Linked DNA regions of Homo sapiens: regions 1, 3 and 4 are each linked to region 2. The links are contacts of gene promoters, found by promoter capture Hi-C in blood cells and fetal thymus (Javierre and others, 2016). All regions are on one chromosome and are shown on one strand. Each heading gives the region's core, a stretch centred on a gene start or on the middle of the fragment in contact. The rest is flanking DNA. Distances are from core to core; before and after follow the strand shown.

What was found. Contacts are between HindIII fragments. The CHiCAGO score rates a contact against its expected background, and 5 or more counts as called.
Region 1: a fragment that was not itself captured here is called in contact with the fragment with the promoter of HAMP in region 2 in 2 of 17 cell types (total B cells and monocytes); the score reaches 6.2 in total B cells.
Region 3: a fragment that was not itself captured here is called in contact with the fragment with the promoter of HAMP in region 2 in 3 of 17 cell types (total B cells, monocytes and naive B cells); the score reaches 7.4 in total B cells.
Region 4: a contact is called between a fragment that was not itself captured here and the fragment with the promoter of HAMP in region 2, in 2 of 17 cell types (monocytes and naive B cells). The highest score is 8.1, in monocytes.

What each region holds. Positions count from the first base shown.
Region 1 is chr19:35,203,075-35,206,627 of GRCh38, forward strand. It overlaps LOC105372379 (a long non-coding RNA gene), which reads left to right and starts at 2,047. Exons shown (of 3, transcript XR_935938.2): 1 at 2,047-2,202; 2 at 3,079-3,318. RefSeq lists enhancers at 8-525, 526-1,043, 1,044-1,561, 2,537-2,706. The HindIII fragment of the contact is 3,198 bases long and covers 308-3,505 here.
Region 2 is chr19:35,281,109-35,284,877 of GRCh38, forward strand. It overlaps HAMP (hepcidin antimicrobial peptide), which reads left to right and starts at 1,420. Exons shown (of 3, transcript NM_021175.4): 1 at 1,420-1,559; 2 at 3,681-3,740. The coding sequence starts at 1,470. RefSeq lists an enhancer at 1,282-1,791. The HindIII fragment of the contact is 2,484 bases long and covers 202-2,685 here.
Region 3 is chr19:35,182,595-35,186,343 of GRCh38, forward strand. No RefSeq gene overlaps it. Among named protein-coding and RNA genes, the nearest start is that of FXYD5, 30 kb to the left of the region's middle. The HindIII fragment of the contact is 8,299 bases long and covers 1-3,749 here.
Region 4 is chr19:35,390,104-35,393,787 of GRCh38, forward strand. No RefSeq gene overlaps it. Among named protein-coding and RNA genes, the nearest start is that of LINC01531, 14 kb to the right of the region's middle. The HindIII fragment of the contact is 543 bases long and covers 1,980-2,522 here.

The DNA of each region.
Region 1 (3,553 bases), core at 657-3,156, 78 kb before region 2:
TATTGTTGACAGAAAAGCCAAACTTTGTGAAATATTTAAAGAGGTTTATTCTGAGCCTATAAGAGTGGCCATGGCCTGGGGTACAGTCTCAAGAGATCCTGAGAACATGTGCCTGAGGGGGTCAGGTTACAGTTTGGTTTTATACATTTTAGGGAGACAGGAGTTACAGGCAAAGACATAAATCAATACACGGAAGGTGTACATTGGTTCAGCCTAAAGAGGTGGGATATCTTGAGTCAGAGGGTGGGGAACAGGGCTTACAGGCGGATTCAAAGACTTTCTGATTGCCATTTGGTTGGAAGAGTTAAGCTTTGCCTAAAGACTGAAGAAGTCCTTAGAAAAGAATGCTTGAGCTAACATAAGGGGTTGTAGAAGACAAGGCCCTTGTTATGCAGATGAAGTCTCCTAAGTGGCAGCGCTCAGAGAACATGTGACCAGGGTCAGCTTGGAATTTGGGATCTGATTGCCATAAAGAGTCTACTCTGTCAGTCCTGTGATCTGTATTTTAATGTTAATGTTGGTCAGTTGGGCCTAAACTCCAGAAGGGAGGGGCTAGAATGAGGCATGTGCACCTCCCATTTCTTCATGGCTAGAATTCAGTTGTTCAGATGTCTCTGGGGTCCCTTTGGCCCAGAAGGGGGTCCACTTAGTTAGTTGGGGGGCTCAGGATTTTATTTTTGGTTCAAAGTATATATTCTAGGTTGTGATGTCAAATGACTCTCTTACAGTTAACAACAAAAGTGTGAAAGCTACTGTGGTTGATAGCAATATCCTTTGGTTTAGTAGCTTTGTTTTATTTTCCATGTTATTACTTGGAAATTCTTTTCCCCTGGACCCTCCTAAGTCTCTGTCTCCTATCCCCCAGAGACCTAAAGGGTGAAGACACTGAGCTTCCAGATTTGAGGGCAGGAGAGTCCTAGTGAGGCCTGGCTTGGAGGCCAGGGAACTTCCTATTCCAGTCTGCAATGTTACCCTTCAATCTCCAGCTCCCCTGGCTGTTGGTGCCCACCCCAGAGTTGTGGAAGCCCTTTCAGTCTAGCTGCCCCACTTGGTGACAGCATGGGCAGGGCAGGACAGGGAGCATCATGGGGTTCATGCTTTCTGCCGTCCAGCCTCCCTACATGCAGGGCGATGGCCCCTAGCTGACCCTTGAGAGCTGAGGGGAGGCTAGGAAGAGGGTTAAAGGCGAAGCCAGACCCAGGCCATTACTGAAGTCACATGGCCTGCCAGGAAACCCCTGTCTATATTGTAGCTGGTTGAACTAATTATATTATAAATACTTTTCCATTTTCTGCCTAGAACCATGCTCTAGACATCTGCATGAGGTCATTAAACCTGCACCACAGCCATGCACACACACGTGTGTGTGTGTGTGTGTGTGTAAAAGACAGACATGAGGTATAGAAGAGCAATATAGAGGTCTCCATATTATGGGGGAACAGACAGTCCCAGAGCAGGGAGGTCACTTGAACAGGGTCACAGAGGCAGGAGGCCACGAACCTGGCTGGACACTGCAGGGCCAAGCAGGTAAACACTGTGCCTGACTCGCACCCAGACTTCGCAACAACCCTAGAATATTCATAAGTCAGTAATAATAGTGTTACAGGAAAGGAGTCCCGATCCAGACCCCAAGAGAGGGTTCTTGGATTCCCACAAGAGAGAATTCAGGGCAGGTCCATAAAGTGAAAGCAAGTTTATTAGGAAAATAAAGGAATAAAGAATGGCTACTCCATAGACAGAGCAGCCCCGAGGACTGCTGGTTGCCCATTTTTATGGTTATTTCTTGATGATATGCTACACAAGGGGTGGATTATTCATTTCTCCCCTTTTTAGACCATAGAGGGTAACTTCCCGACATCGCCATGGTATTTGTAAACTGTCATGGCGCTGGTGGGAGTGTAGCAGTGAGGACGACCAGAGGTCACTCTCGTGGCCATCTTGGTTTTGATGGGTATTATCTGGCTTCTTTATTGCATCCTGTTTTATCAGCAAGGTCTTTATGACCTGCATCTTGTGTTGACCTCCTATCTCACCCTGTGACTCAGAATGCCTTAACCATCTGGGGATGCAGCCCAGTAAGTCTCAGCCTCATTTTACCTGGCCCCTACTCAAGATGGGGTTGCTCTGGTTCAAACGCCTCTGACAGGGTGACAACTGTGACCACAACAGATTCACAAACATGACATTTTCAGAGAGAGGAAGGTATGCAGGGTGGTGTGATTTGGAAGAGGCTGTGGGCGTAGAGGGATGGGTAATTCAGTTGGGGTGGTCAGGGAGGGCTGCTTGGTGGAGGGGACTCTTGGCTGAGACCTGAGGGCTGTGAAGTTCTTAGAGAAGGGTGTTCCAGGCAGAGGGAACAGCAAGCACAAAGGCCTGAGACGAGAGCTAGCTTGGTATGCAAGAGGAACAGAAAAGAGGAAGTGAGAGTAAGGCGGGGGAGGGAAGGGGCAGGGAATGGAGGCTGTGGAGAGGGGAGGGTTTCCAGGCAGCCCAGGACCCTCAAGGAGAGAAACGTTGGATGTAGTCTCCCAGGTAGGGTCCATCTGGCCCTTCCTCCTGGCTCCTGCGGAGTCCGAGTGGCTCTTTCCCTCCTTCCCTCCTCTCCCCTCCTCCTTCTCTCCCTCTCCATTTTCCCTGCAAGGTCTGCAGCCCAACTCCAGCTCTCCCATTACTACAGGGGCTGGTGGGTCCTTCTGAGCAAGAAGATGGGGCTCTTTGTCTACAGTGTCTGTCTATAGTCATTCACCCACTCATTCATTTAATCATTCACTCATTCATTCATTCATTTAGCCACTCATTTGTCAAATATTGATTTTTCTCAGGTGTTTTGCCCTCACAGGTCCTGCCGCCTAAAACACTGACTTCTTATCTCTCAAGGCTTTGCTTTCAACACTGTCTCTTCCAAGACCTCTCCCTGACCACTCCCAACTTACTAAACCCCTATCACCCTGTTAGCTTTTGAATGCTCTTCATGGTAAAACAGGACAGGTTGATGCTCTCCGGGGCTCTCTCTACACACAAGAGAGAGATTAGCCTGACGGGCATTCGTTTACCCTTCTCATTTTCTTTGGGAACCAGCCTCCCCTGCTCTTAGTCTATGTGATTCGGACACAGCCAACTACATTTCCCAGATCCAGAAATGAACACGCCATTCCAAGTAAAGCCAATGAGAGACAGCTGCAGGACTTTTGCTGGAACTATTGGGAAAGTGGTGTTTCTTTTTCTGCTATGGTTACTTATCTGCTATGCTCTAAGCCTGGAACTGCTGGAGGTCATCTTTGCTGCATGAAAATGAAGTCAATATTGAGGACAGCAGAGGTGAGAGGGAGAGAGGCATAATCCTGAGTGTATTGCAGGGGCACCTGGATCCAGCCATACCTGAAATCCGAGACTTTCCATTCTAAGAACCAATACATTCTCTTTGTACTTAAGCTAGTTTGGGTTTTAATCACTTGTGCCAGAAGGCCTGATTGATAATAAAACCTCAAAGATAAGCAGGCAGTCAAGCTTAGGTACTTTCCTTTTAAGAGATGCGGGCAGGTGCTTCCTTCTC
Region 2 (3,769 bases), core at 170-2,669:
GCTGCTGATTTCAGGATACCAGCATGATGCCACTGAATGCAGAGTTTCGAGATGTGCATGGTCTGCTATGTTGAGCCAGGTCTAGCATACCGCTGTGCCCTGCTGTGTTTTAGGGGAGATGGGGAAACCTGGTGGGTAAGAGCAAAAGCCCTGGAGTCAGGCTGTCCAGGCTAGAATCTCAGCTCTGCCTCTGGCTGAGCAAGCTTGGGCCATGCCCTGATCTCTGCCTTCAGTGCCTTTTCTGTAAAGTGAAGGAAATGAGTGTCCGACGGGGAGGAGGTTCCTAAAAGGGAGCAGGGTCTGGGGAGCCCAGGCCTCTGGGGTTGGGTGACTGAGAAGGCAGCCCCTGAATACAGAGCAGAGCTGAAGGTGGGGCAGTAAGTGCTGCTGGGAGAACAGGCAGCACAGGCTGAGTTGGTGCAGAAGTGAGTCAACATATGTGCCATCGTATAAAATGTACTCATCGGACTGTAGATGTTAGCTATTACTATTACTGCTATTTTATGTTTTATAGACAGGGTCTCACTCTGTCACCCAGGCTGGAGTGCAGTCACACAATCATAGCTCACTGCAACCTCAGCCTCCTGGGCTTAAGCGATCTGCCTCAGCCTCCCAAGTAGCTGGGACTACAGATGTGTGCCACCACGCCTGGCTAAATTTGTTTAAAATTTTTTTTGTAGAGATGGGGTCTCCCTATGTTGCCCAGGCTAGTCTTGAACTTCTGGGCTCAAGCGACCCTCCTGCCTTGGCCTCCCAAATTGCTGGGATTACAGGCATAAGCCACTGTGCTGGGCCATATTACTGCTGTCATTTATGGCCAAAAGTTTGCTCAAACATTTTCCAGTTACCAGAGCCACATCTCAAGGGTCTGACACTGGGAAAACACCACGTGCGGATCGGGCACACGCTGATGCTTGCCCTGCTCAGGGCTATCTAGTGTTCCCTGCCAGAACCTATGCACGTGTGGTGAGAGCTTAAAGCAATGGATGCTTCCCCCAACATGCCAGACACTCCTGAGGAGCCTGGCGGCTGCTGGCCATGCCCCGTGTGCATGTAGGCGATGGGGAAGTGAGTGGAGGAGAGCGGAACCTTGATTCTGCTCATCAAACTGCTTAACCGCTGAAGCAAAAGGGGGAACTTTTTTCCCGATCAGCAGAATGACATCGTGATGGGGAAAGGGCTCCCCAGATGGCTGGTGAGCAGTGTGTGTCTGTGACCCCGTCTGCCCCACCCCCTGAACACACCTCTGCCGGCTGAGGGTGACACAACCCTGTTCCCTGTCGCTCTGTTCCCGCTTATCTCTCCCGCCTTTTCGGCGCCACCACCTTCTTGGAAATGAGACAGAGCAAAGGGGAGGGGGCTCAGACCACCGCCTCCCCTGGCAGGCCCCATAAAAGCGACTGTCACTCGGTCCCAGACACCAGAGCAAGCTCAAGACCCAGCAGTGGGACAGCCAGACAGACGGCACGATGGCACTGAGCTCCCAGATCTGGGCCGCTTGCCTCCTGCTCCTCCTCCTCCTCGCCAGCCTGACCAGTGGCTCTGTTTTCCCACAACAGGTGAGAGCCCAGTGGCCTGGGTCCTTAGCAGGGCAGCAGGGATGGGAGAGCCAGGCCTCAGCCTAGGGCACTGGAGACACCCGAGCACTGAGCAGAGCTCAGGACGTCTCAGGAGTACTGGCAGCTGAACAGGAACCAGGACAGGCACGGTGGCTCATGCCTGTAATCCCAGCACTTTGGGAGGTTGAGGCAGGCAGCCCACTTGAGGTCAGTTTGAGACCAGCCTGGCCAACATGGTAAAACCCCGTCTCTACTAAAAATACAAAAGTTAGCCAGGCTTGGTGGCAGGTGCCTGTAATCCCAGCTACTCGGGAGACTGAGGCAGGAGAATTGCTTGAACCCGCAAGGTGGAGGTTGCACAGTGAGCTGAGATTGCACCACTGCACTCCAGCCTGGCAACAGAGCAAGACTCCATCTCCAAAAAAGAACAGAAATCAATGAAGCACCGAGTGACAGGGACTGGAAGGTCCTAATTCCATGGGTATTTACGGAACCCCTACGCCGTGTGGAGTCTTATTCTAGACAGTGGGGACGAGGCCATGAACAAGGTAGATGAGAGAGGAGATTTCTCCATCCTGGTCAGGGAATTTGTTAAAGACTGATGAAAACATGAATAAATAATTGTGTCTAGTACATTCTATTCGTGAATCTCATAACAGACAGTGGTAGAGTGACCGTGACCCATTCGCCACACAGTAGAGTCACTTTTTTGGTTTGTTTTTTAGAGACAGGGTCTTCCTCTGTTGCTGAGGCTGGAGTGCAGTGGTGCAGTCATAGTTCACTGCAGCCTCAACCTCCTGTGCTCAAGCAATCCTCCCACCTCAGCGTCCCAAGTAGCTGGGACAGCAGGCACATGCCACGGGTTGGGGGACCACAGGCATGGTCAAGGGGCTGGCAGTCAAGCAAGTGTTTCATGAGAAAGTGACAGTTGACCTTCGTCTTGGAGGGTGAGAGATGGAGGCAGCAAAGACCTAAGGAGAGGACAAGCCAGCATAGCCCAGGGTCAGGCTGAACAAGAGGAGATGGTGGGACTTGGGGATAAGGCTGAGGGGTGGGCAGTCCCTAAGTCTTGTGGGCAACCATGCAGACACTGATTTTTCCTTGGAATAAAGAGGAAGCCCCCATAAGCTTTTTTTTTTTTTTCTGAGATAGGGTCTCGCTCTGTCGTTCAGGCTGGTGTGCAGTGGCATCATCTGGGCTCACTGCAACCTCCGCCTCCCGGGTTCAAGCAATTCTCCTGCCTCAGCTTCCCGAGCAGCTGGGATTACAGGCGGCTGCCACCACGCCCGGCTAATTTTTGTTTTTTTAGTAGAGACAGGGTTTCACCATGTTGGCCAGACTGGTCTTGAACTCCTGACCTCAGGTGATTCTCCCACCTCGGCTTCCCAAAGTGCTGGGATTACAGGCGTGAGCCACTGCGCCCAGCCTCCTGTAGGTTTTTAAAATGGAGAAAACCACAATCTCACTGGCCATGTTTTAAAAAACTTAATCTGCCAGTCAGGCACCATGGCTCACACCTGTAATCCCAGAGTTTTGGGAGGCCAAGGTAGGAAGATCAGTTGAGCCCAGGAGTTCAAGACCAGCTTGGGCAACACAACCAGACCCCACCTCTACAAAAAATTAAAAAATTAGCCGGGTGTGGTGGCGTGCACCTGCTGTCCCAGCTACTCGGGAAGCTGAGGCGGGAGCATCGCTTGAGCACAGGAGGTCAAGGCTGCAGGGAGCTATGACTGTGCCACTGCACTCTGGCCTGGGCAACAGAGGAAGACTCTGTCTAAAAAACAAACAAAAAAAGTGACTCTGCTGTGTGGCAAATGGATTGAGGGGCAAGAATGCAGGGAGGTGTGTTAGGAGGCTGGCACTGGCATCCAGGCAGGGGAAGGTGATATCCCAAAGAAGAGTAGCAGCTGTGGAAAGAGGAGGAGGCGGATCTGGGAGGTTTTTTTTTTTAGGAAAAGCCGCCCATGGGAAGGTGAGCAGAAGCAAGAAAGCAAGGCCCCTCCTAAGAGTCCATTTGAGCTCTGGGTTTAAACCACTTGGAGAGGAGCAGGTTGCCGGGAGCCAGTCTCAGAGGTCCACTGGGCCCCCTGCCATCCTCTGCACCCCCTTCTGCTTTCACAGACGGGACAACTTGCAGAGCTGCAACCCCAGGACAGAGCTGGAGCCAGGGCCAGCTGGATGGTGAGCGCAACAGTGATGCCTTTCCTAGC
Region 3 (3,749 bases), core at 1,159-3,658, 98 kb before region 2:
ACACAAAAGGGTGCAATGCCACAACACCAGTTAGATCCAGAAGTACAGCTATGACCCCAGCATTTGAACTCATACAGTGCCCCACACCCCAGGGAACAGGCAATCTATCACAGCAGGGTGGCAGCCCCCAAAACATGGGGAACCAATGTGCAAATCCCTCAGGGACCAAGGACTTGCCTGCCTGGTGCCCAACAGTGATGGCAATGCTGCCTCACAACTAGCAGAGCCACCATGCCCAGTGCACACTTCCCTAGGGTTCACCCAGCTCCTTCCTCCAGCAAAGCCACACCACTGCCTCCTTAAACACCTGAATATTAGGCCACTGAAGTATTCACAGACACTGCTGACATTAATTACAGCCAAAGAAATCACATGGAGATCATACTACTGTGTTTATCTAGAACCACAGCCAAAGCATCCTACACAACCGACACTATAGGGTACATATACAGGAAAAAGTCTTTACTTATGAAAGTTACTCCATCAAATTGGAAGAGGTAGCTATTATACCAGATGTGTAGGAACACAAGAAACATGAAAAAGCAAGAAAACATGACACCTCTAAAGGAACACAATAATCCTCCAATAATAGACCCCAAAGAAAAGAACATCTGTGCAATTCCCAAAAAAGAATTCAAGTGATCATAAGGAAATTTGATGGGATACAAGAGAATACAAATAGACAATTCAACAAAATCAGGAAAACAGGGCTGGGCGCGGTGGCTCACGCCTGTAATCCCAGCACTTCGGGAGGCCGAGGTGGGTGGATCACCTGAAGTCAGGAATTTGAGAGCATCCTGGCCAACATGGCAAAACCATGTCTCTACTAAAAATACAAAAACTAGCCAGGCATGATGGTGCATGCCTATAGTCCCAGCTACTTGGGAGGCTGAGGCAGAAGAATCGTTTGAACCCTGGAGGCGGAGGTTGCAGTGAGCCAAGGTCGTGCCACCGTACTCCAGCCTGGGCAACAGAGTGAGACAACATCCCCCGCCCAAAAAAATCAGGAAAACAGTTCATGATCAGAATGAAAAAAAATCAGTAAAGAGATGGATATCATAAAAAAAAACACATAAATTTTGGAGCTGAAGACTTAATAAATGATTTTTTTTTTTTTTTTTTTGAAACAGAGTCTTGCTCTTGTCACCCAGGCTGGAGTGCAATGGCATGATCTTGGCTCACTGCAACCTCTGCCTCCCAGGTTCAAGCAATTCTTCTGCCCCAACCTACTGAGTAGCTGGGATTACAGGCCCCTGCCACCATGCCCAGCTAATTTTTGTATTTTTAGTAGAGACGGGGTTTCGCCATGTTGGCCAGGCTGGTCTCGAACTCCTGACCTGGTGATCTGCCCACCTCAGCCTCCCAAAGTGCTAGAATTACAGGCGTGAGCCACCGATCCCGGCCAATAAATGAAATTTAAAATATAATTGAGAGCTTCAACAACAAACTAGGTCAAGCAGAAGAAAGAATTTCTAAACTTGAAGACAGGTCTCTTTTGAAATAACTCAATCAGACAAAAAATAAAATAAAAAAGAATGAAGGAAGCCTACAAGACCTATGGGACATTGTTAAGCAAACAGATATTCCAATTTCCAAAAGGAAAAGAGATGAGAAAAGACACAGAAATCCTATGTAATAAAGTAATAGCTGAGAACTTCCAAAGTCTCGGGAAAGGTATGGACATCCAGATTCAGGATGCTCAAAAGTCCCCAAATAGATTCAACCCAAAAAGGTCCTCTCTGTAGCACATTCTGGTCAAACTGTCAAAAGTTGAAGACCATGAGGGAATTTGAAAAACAGCAAGAGAAAAGCATCAAGTCACATATAAGGGAATCCCCATTAGACTAATAGAAGACTTCTCAGCAGAAACCTTATATTACAGGAGCGAATGGGATGATATATTCTAAGTGATGAAAGAAAAAAACCTGGCAGCCAAGAATACTGTAACAGCAAATCTATCCTTTAGAAATGAAGGAGTCATAAAGTCTTTCCCAGACAAGCAAAAACTGAGGGAATTTATTACCACTAAAGTAGCCTTACAAGAAATCCTCAAGGAGTAGTAAATCAGCAAATTATCTGAATAGGCATTTCTCAAAAGAAGACATACAAATGACCAACAAGTATATATGAAAAATATTCAACATCATTAATCATCTGGCAAATGCAAATTGATACTACAATAAGATATCATCTCACTCCACTTAGAATGGCTGTTATCAAAGAGAAAAAATAACAAAAGCTGGCAAGGATGCAGAGGAAAAGGAACTCTTATACACTGTTGGTGGAAATGTAAATTAGTACAATCATACTGGAAAACAGTATGGAGGCTCCTTAAAAACACCTAAAAATAGAACTATCCTATCTATGATCCAGCAATACACTCTAGGGTATATATTCAGAGGACAGGAAATGAGTATGTCAAAGAGATATCTGTACTTATATGCCAAAGATAAGGTAAGCATGGTTACTATAGTTGATAGTGAAGTCAAAATAGTAATAAGAATAATGTGACTCAAAGAGACCTTTGGCATTCACTACTTTATCATGGTATGCCTCGAAATGAAATAGATGGGGGAGCCTACTAAACTCTTGCTTGATCTGTCTAGGTGGGTAAGTTCTGAGTCTGGCAGACTTGCAGCACCATTCTCAATAGCCAAGATATGGAATCAACGTAAGTGTTTTTCAAGAGATGAATGGATAAAGAAAATGTGGTACAGATACACAATGGAATACTATTCCACCGTAAAAATAATGAAATCTTGTCATTTGTGGCAACATTAATGAGCCTGTAAGACATTATGTTAGGTGAATTAAGCCAAGCATGGGAAGATAAATACCACATATTCTCATTCATATGTGGAAGCTAAGAAAGTTGATATCATAGAAGTAGAGAATGTAATAGTGGTTACTAGAGGCTGGATAGGGGTTGAAGGGGATAGGAAGATGTTGGCAAATGGATACACAATTACAGCTAGATAGGAAAAATAACTTCCAGCATTCCTTAGCACTGTAGGATGACTATAATTAGCAATGATTTATTGCACCATTCCTCAGGACAATCAACCAGTCTGCTGATGGCTAATTAATTACGTCGAACTGTCTCTTTTTTAATTTTCTTTTCTTTTTTGAGACAGAGTCTCGCTCTTGTCACCTAGGCTTGAGTGCAATGGAACAATCTCGGCTCATTGCAACCTCCACCTCCCAGGTTCAAGAGATTCTCCTGCCTCAGCCTCCTGAGTAGCTGGGATTATAGGCATCCATCACCACACCCAGCTAATTTTCATATTTTTAGTGAAGACAGGGTTTCATCATGTTGGCCAGGCTGGTCTCAAACTGCTGACCTCAGGTGTTCCACCCATCGCAGCCTCCCAAAATGTTGGGATTACAGGTGTGAGCCACTGCGCCCAGCCACATTGAACTGTTCCTGTCATGGAAAGGGCAACTCTTTTTTCTTATTTTAATTTTTTAATTTTTGTAATAGAATTCGCTTACCATACAATTCACATGCCATACAGTTCACACATTTAAAGCATACAAGCCGATCTGATTATTTCACATTGCATGCCTGTATCAAAACATCTCATGTTCTCCATAAATAAATACACCTATGATGTACCCACAGCAATTAAAAATTTTTAAAAATCATGTACAAGTCAATGGTTTTTAGTATATCCATAGATATGTACAGCCATCATCACGATCAATTTAAAAACATTTTTTTTTTTTGAGAGAGAGTCTTGCTCTGTCAC
Region 4 (3,684 bases), core at 1,001-3,500, 110 kb after region 2:
TAAAAGATTGTGGAGACCAAGGTTCTTTTGAAGTCTTACAGTGGCTGCCCTTAGAAACAATAGTTGACAAATGTTTCCTATTCAGACCTTTAAAAGGTGCTAGACTCTTAGTTAATCTCTTCAGGATTGGGAGGGCCTGAAAGAAAAAGATCTAGCTATGTTAATAGAGATTCTTTACAGATGCACATTTCCCCCCCACAAAGGACAACTTTGCAGGGCCATTTCAAAATATGGCAAAGAAACATGTTTTGGGGTAAAATATTATGACTTTCTTCTTTGTCGTGTAATGTTATACCAGAGTAAGATTGGAAAGTAAGTCACAATATGTAAGTTAAATAAAACCCATCTGGGCTGGGCATGGTGGCTCACGCTTGTAATCCCTGCACTTTTGGAGGCTGAGGCAGGCAGATCACCTGAGGTCAGGAGTTCGAGAACAGCCTGGCCATTATGGTGAAACCCCATCTCTACGAAAAATACAAAAATTGGCAGGGCGTAGTGGCAGGCACCTGTAATTCCAGCTACTCGTGAGGCTGAGGCAGGAGAATTGCTTGAACCCAGGAGGCAGAGGTTGCAGTGAGCTGAGATCGCACCATTGCACTCCAGCCTGGGCAACAGAGTAAGACTGTCTCAACAACAACAACAAAAATCTGATGAGAATTTATGGTTTGTAGAGCATGACTTCTCTAGACCCCTTAGATAGGAATTTGGGCAAGATTTTAAAAATCAGAGCTTAGTTCTCACTAACAAGCCCCAAGAGTGTCCAAACTGAAACAGTCATGGTGCTTTCCTCCCTCCATCATTTGGGCTTATTCAACCTGCAAATGGAAATTCCTTAGAAAATTCCCAAATTGAGAGGAGCCCTTCCTGCTGTCTGGAACCCAGAAAAGACACTCATCCATCCAGACACAGATATCAAATTTCAAAGTCTGTTCTTCCTAGGCAATCAGCAATACATTTGGGGCTGGCAGCAGCAGAGCCAAAGAGAAAAAGATGGAAACCCACCTCCAGCCAAAAAAAGGTCAGACAGCTGTACAGGGGGCTTCTGAAAGTCCCAGTCTGCAGCAGCTGAGCCACAAGCAATGTGTTCCCAGGTAGGGAACCAAAATCTGTTACTGAAATGCCAGGGCTCCAGTCTAGGTCCCGTTGCTCACTGCACAGAAAGCCAATCACCAAGACAATGAGTACTGCCTGGGAAGAAGGCTTTAATTGAGTGCTTTAGCCAAGGAAAATGGGGATCAGTCTCAAATCCATCTCCCTAGTCAACTAAAATCAGGGGGTTATACAGCAGGGAAGAAATGTAACTACATGTGGGAAAACCAGAGTTAGGGAGAGGTAAGGAAGAGGAGTTGGTCAAAGGAATTAGGGAGGGATAAGGAAATCAGGAGGGATGAGGGGTCTGGCATCTCATTGTCTGGATGCAGTGATCTGGTGAGTTTCAATTCGTTGATTTCCTGTGGCAAGAACTCAGATAAGACAAATGCAGGCTTCAAACTTTAAGACCAGGAGGGGGCCAGGCACAGTGGCTCATGCCTGTAATCCCAGCACTTTGGGAGCCCGAGGTGGGTGGATCACGAGGTCAGGAGATCAAGGCCATCCTGGCTAACACAGTGAAACCCTGTCTCTACTAAAAATACAAAAAATTAGCCGGGTTTGGTGGCATGTGCCTGTAGTCCCAGCTACTCAGGAGACTGAGGCAGGAGAATTGCTTGAACCTGGGAAGCAGAGGTTGTAGTGAGCCAAGATCGCACCACTGCACTCCAGCCTGGGCAACAGAGAAAGACTCCATCTAAAAAAAAAAAAAAAAAAAAAAAAAGAAGGGTGAATTTCTACGTTGATCCAAAAGAAGCATCTATGGGACAATCAGGCCAGTTTCATGAGGAATATAAATTGGATCCTGTCATTGCCCTGAATAAAACTTTTCAATGGCTTTCCATTCTGGCCTCCTCCTCACAGCCTTTGAGGCCCTGCCTCTCTCTCCAAGCTTCTCTGGGGCCATCCCCAGAGAAGTGTCACTGACATCGCTCTTCTGGCCTGGACTTCTCTCTGTCCCTTGAGCAGGCCAAGCTCTGAATGTCTGCATGCACCATGCCTTCCACTCTTTACCTGGCTAGTTCCCCACTTCTTCCAAGTTTCTGTCCAATGTCACGCCTTAGAGAGGCTTTCCCTGATCATCCAATATCAAGTAGCCCCCTTCTGATATTATCTCACACTGCGCTCTCATGGTTTGATGTTTGTATGTGTGTGTTCATTTGTTTAACGTGACTCCTACTAGACTGAGAAGCCCATGACAGCAGTCACCACGTCAGTTTTCTTTGTCACTATATACCCAGTGGGTGCCTAAAACCGTGCCTAGCACAGACTGGGCATTTGATGGTGAATAAATGAATGAATGATTTTTTAAAAATATCTCTAATTTTCTACTATTATAAATAATGCTATGAGAACATCCTTTTACATAAAGGCACGTGCACTGTGCATTTCCTACAAGTCGTACTGTTGAATTAAATGATATGTACATGTAAAGCTTTGATAAATATCGATGAATTACCTTCCCCGGCTGAGTCAACCCTTTCTTCCCCAACAGTCTGTAAGAGACCCCATAACTCTGCTGACAAGAGAAAATATTGTATTTTAATTTTTTGAGATGATATTTAGAATTTAGAAACTTAAGTATTAGTCTGGGATTTCCAGAGAAACAGAACCAATAGAGTGTGTGTATGTGTGTCTGTGGGTGTGTCTGTGTGTCTGTGTCTCTGTGCATGTGTCTGTGTGTGTATGTGTGTCTCTGCGGTGTGTGTGTGTCTGTGTGTGTGTCTGTGTATGTATCTGTGTGTGTGTCTCTGTGCATGTCTGTGTGTGTCTCTGTGTGTGTGTACCTCTGTGTGTCTCTGTATGTTTTTGTATGTGTGTCTCTGTCTGTGTCTCTATGTGTGTCTCTGTGTGCATGTCTGTGTGTGTGTTTCTCTCTGTGTGTGTTTTTGTGTGTGTCTGTATATGTGTCTCCATGTGTGTGTCTGTATGTCTCTGTGTGCGTCTGTGTGCATGTATGTTTGTGGCTCTGTGTGTTAATGTGTGTCTCTGTGTATGTGTTTCTGTGTGCATGTTTGTATGTGTTTCTGTGTGTCTCTGTGTGTTTTTGTGGGTCTGTGTGTCTCTCTGTGTGTGTGTATATCTCTCTGTGTCTGTGTGTGTCTCTGTGTTTCTGTGTGCATGTCTGTGTGTGTGTCCATGTGTGTGTCTGTGTGTTACTGTGTGTCTCCGTGTGTGTGTCTGTGTGTTTCTGTGTGTGTGTTTGTGTGTGTGTGTGTGTGTGTCTGCATGTCTGCATGTGTGTATAAAGAGATTTATTTAAGGAATTGGCTCATGTGATTGTGAATGCTTGATGAGCCCAAAATCTGACGGAGGAAGCTGGCTGACTCGAGGCTCAGGAAGAAGTTGTGGTTGAGTCTAAAGAGAGCCTGCTGGTGAGCCAGGAAGACCCACTGCTGCAGACAAAGTCTGAATCCAGCATGCAGGAGAATTCTCTTTTGCATGTGGAGGTCAGCCTTTTGTGCTGTTCAGGCCTTCAGTGACTGGAGGAGTCCCCCACATTTTGGAGGGCAATCTGCTTTGCTCAGAGTCCACCAATGTAAATGTCAATCTCATCCAAAAACACCCTCACAGCAACACCCAGAATAACGTTTC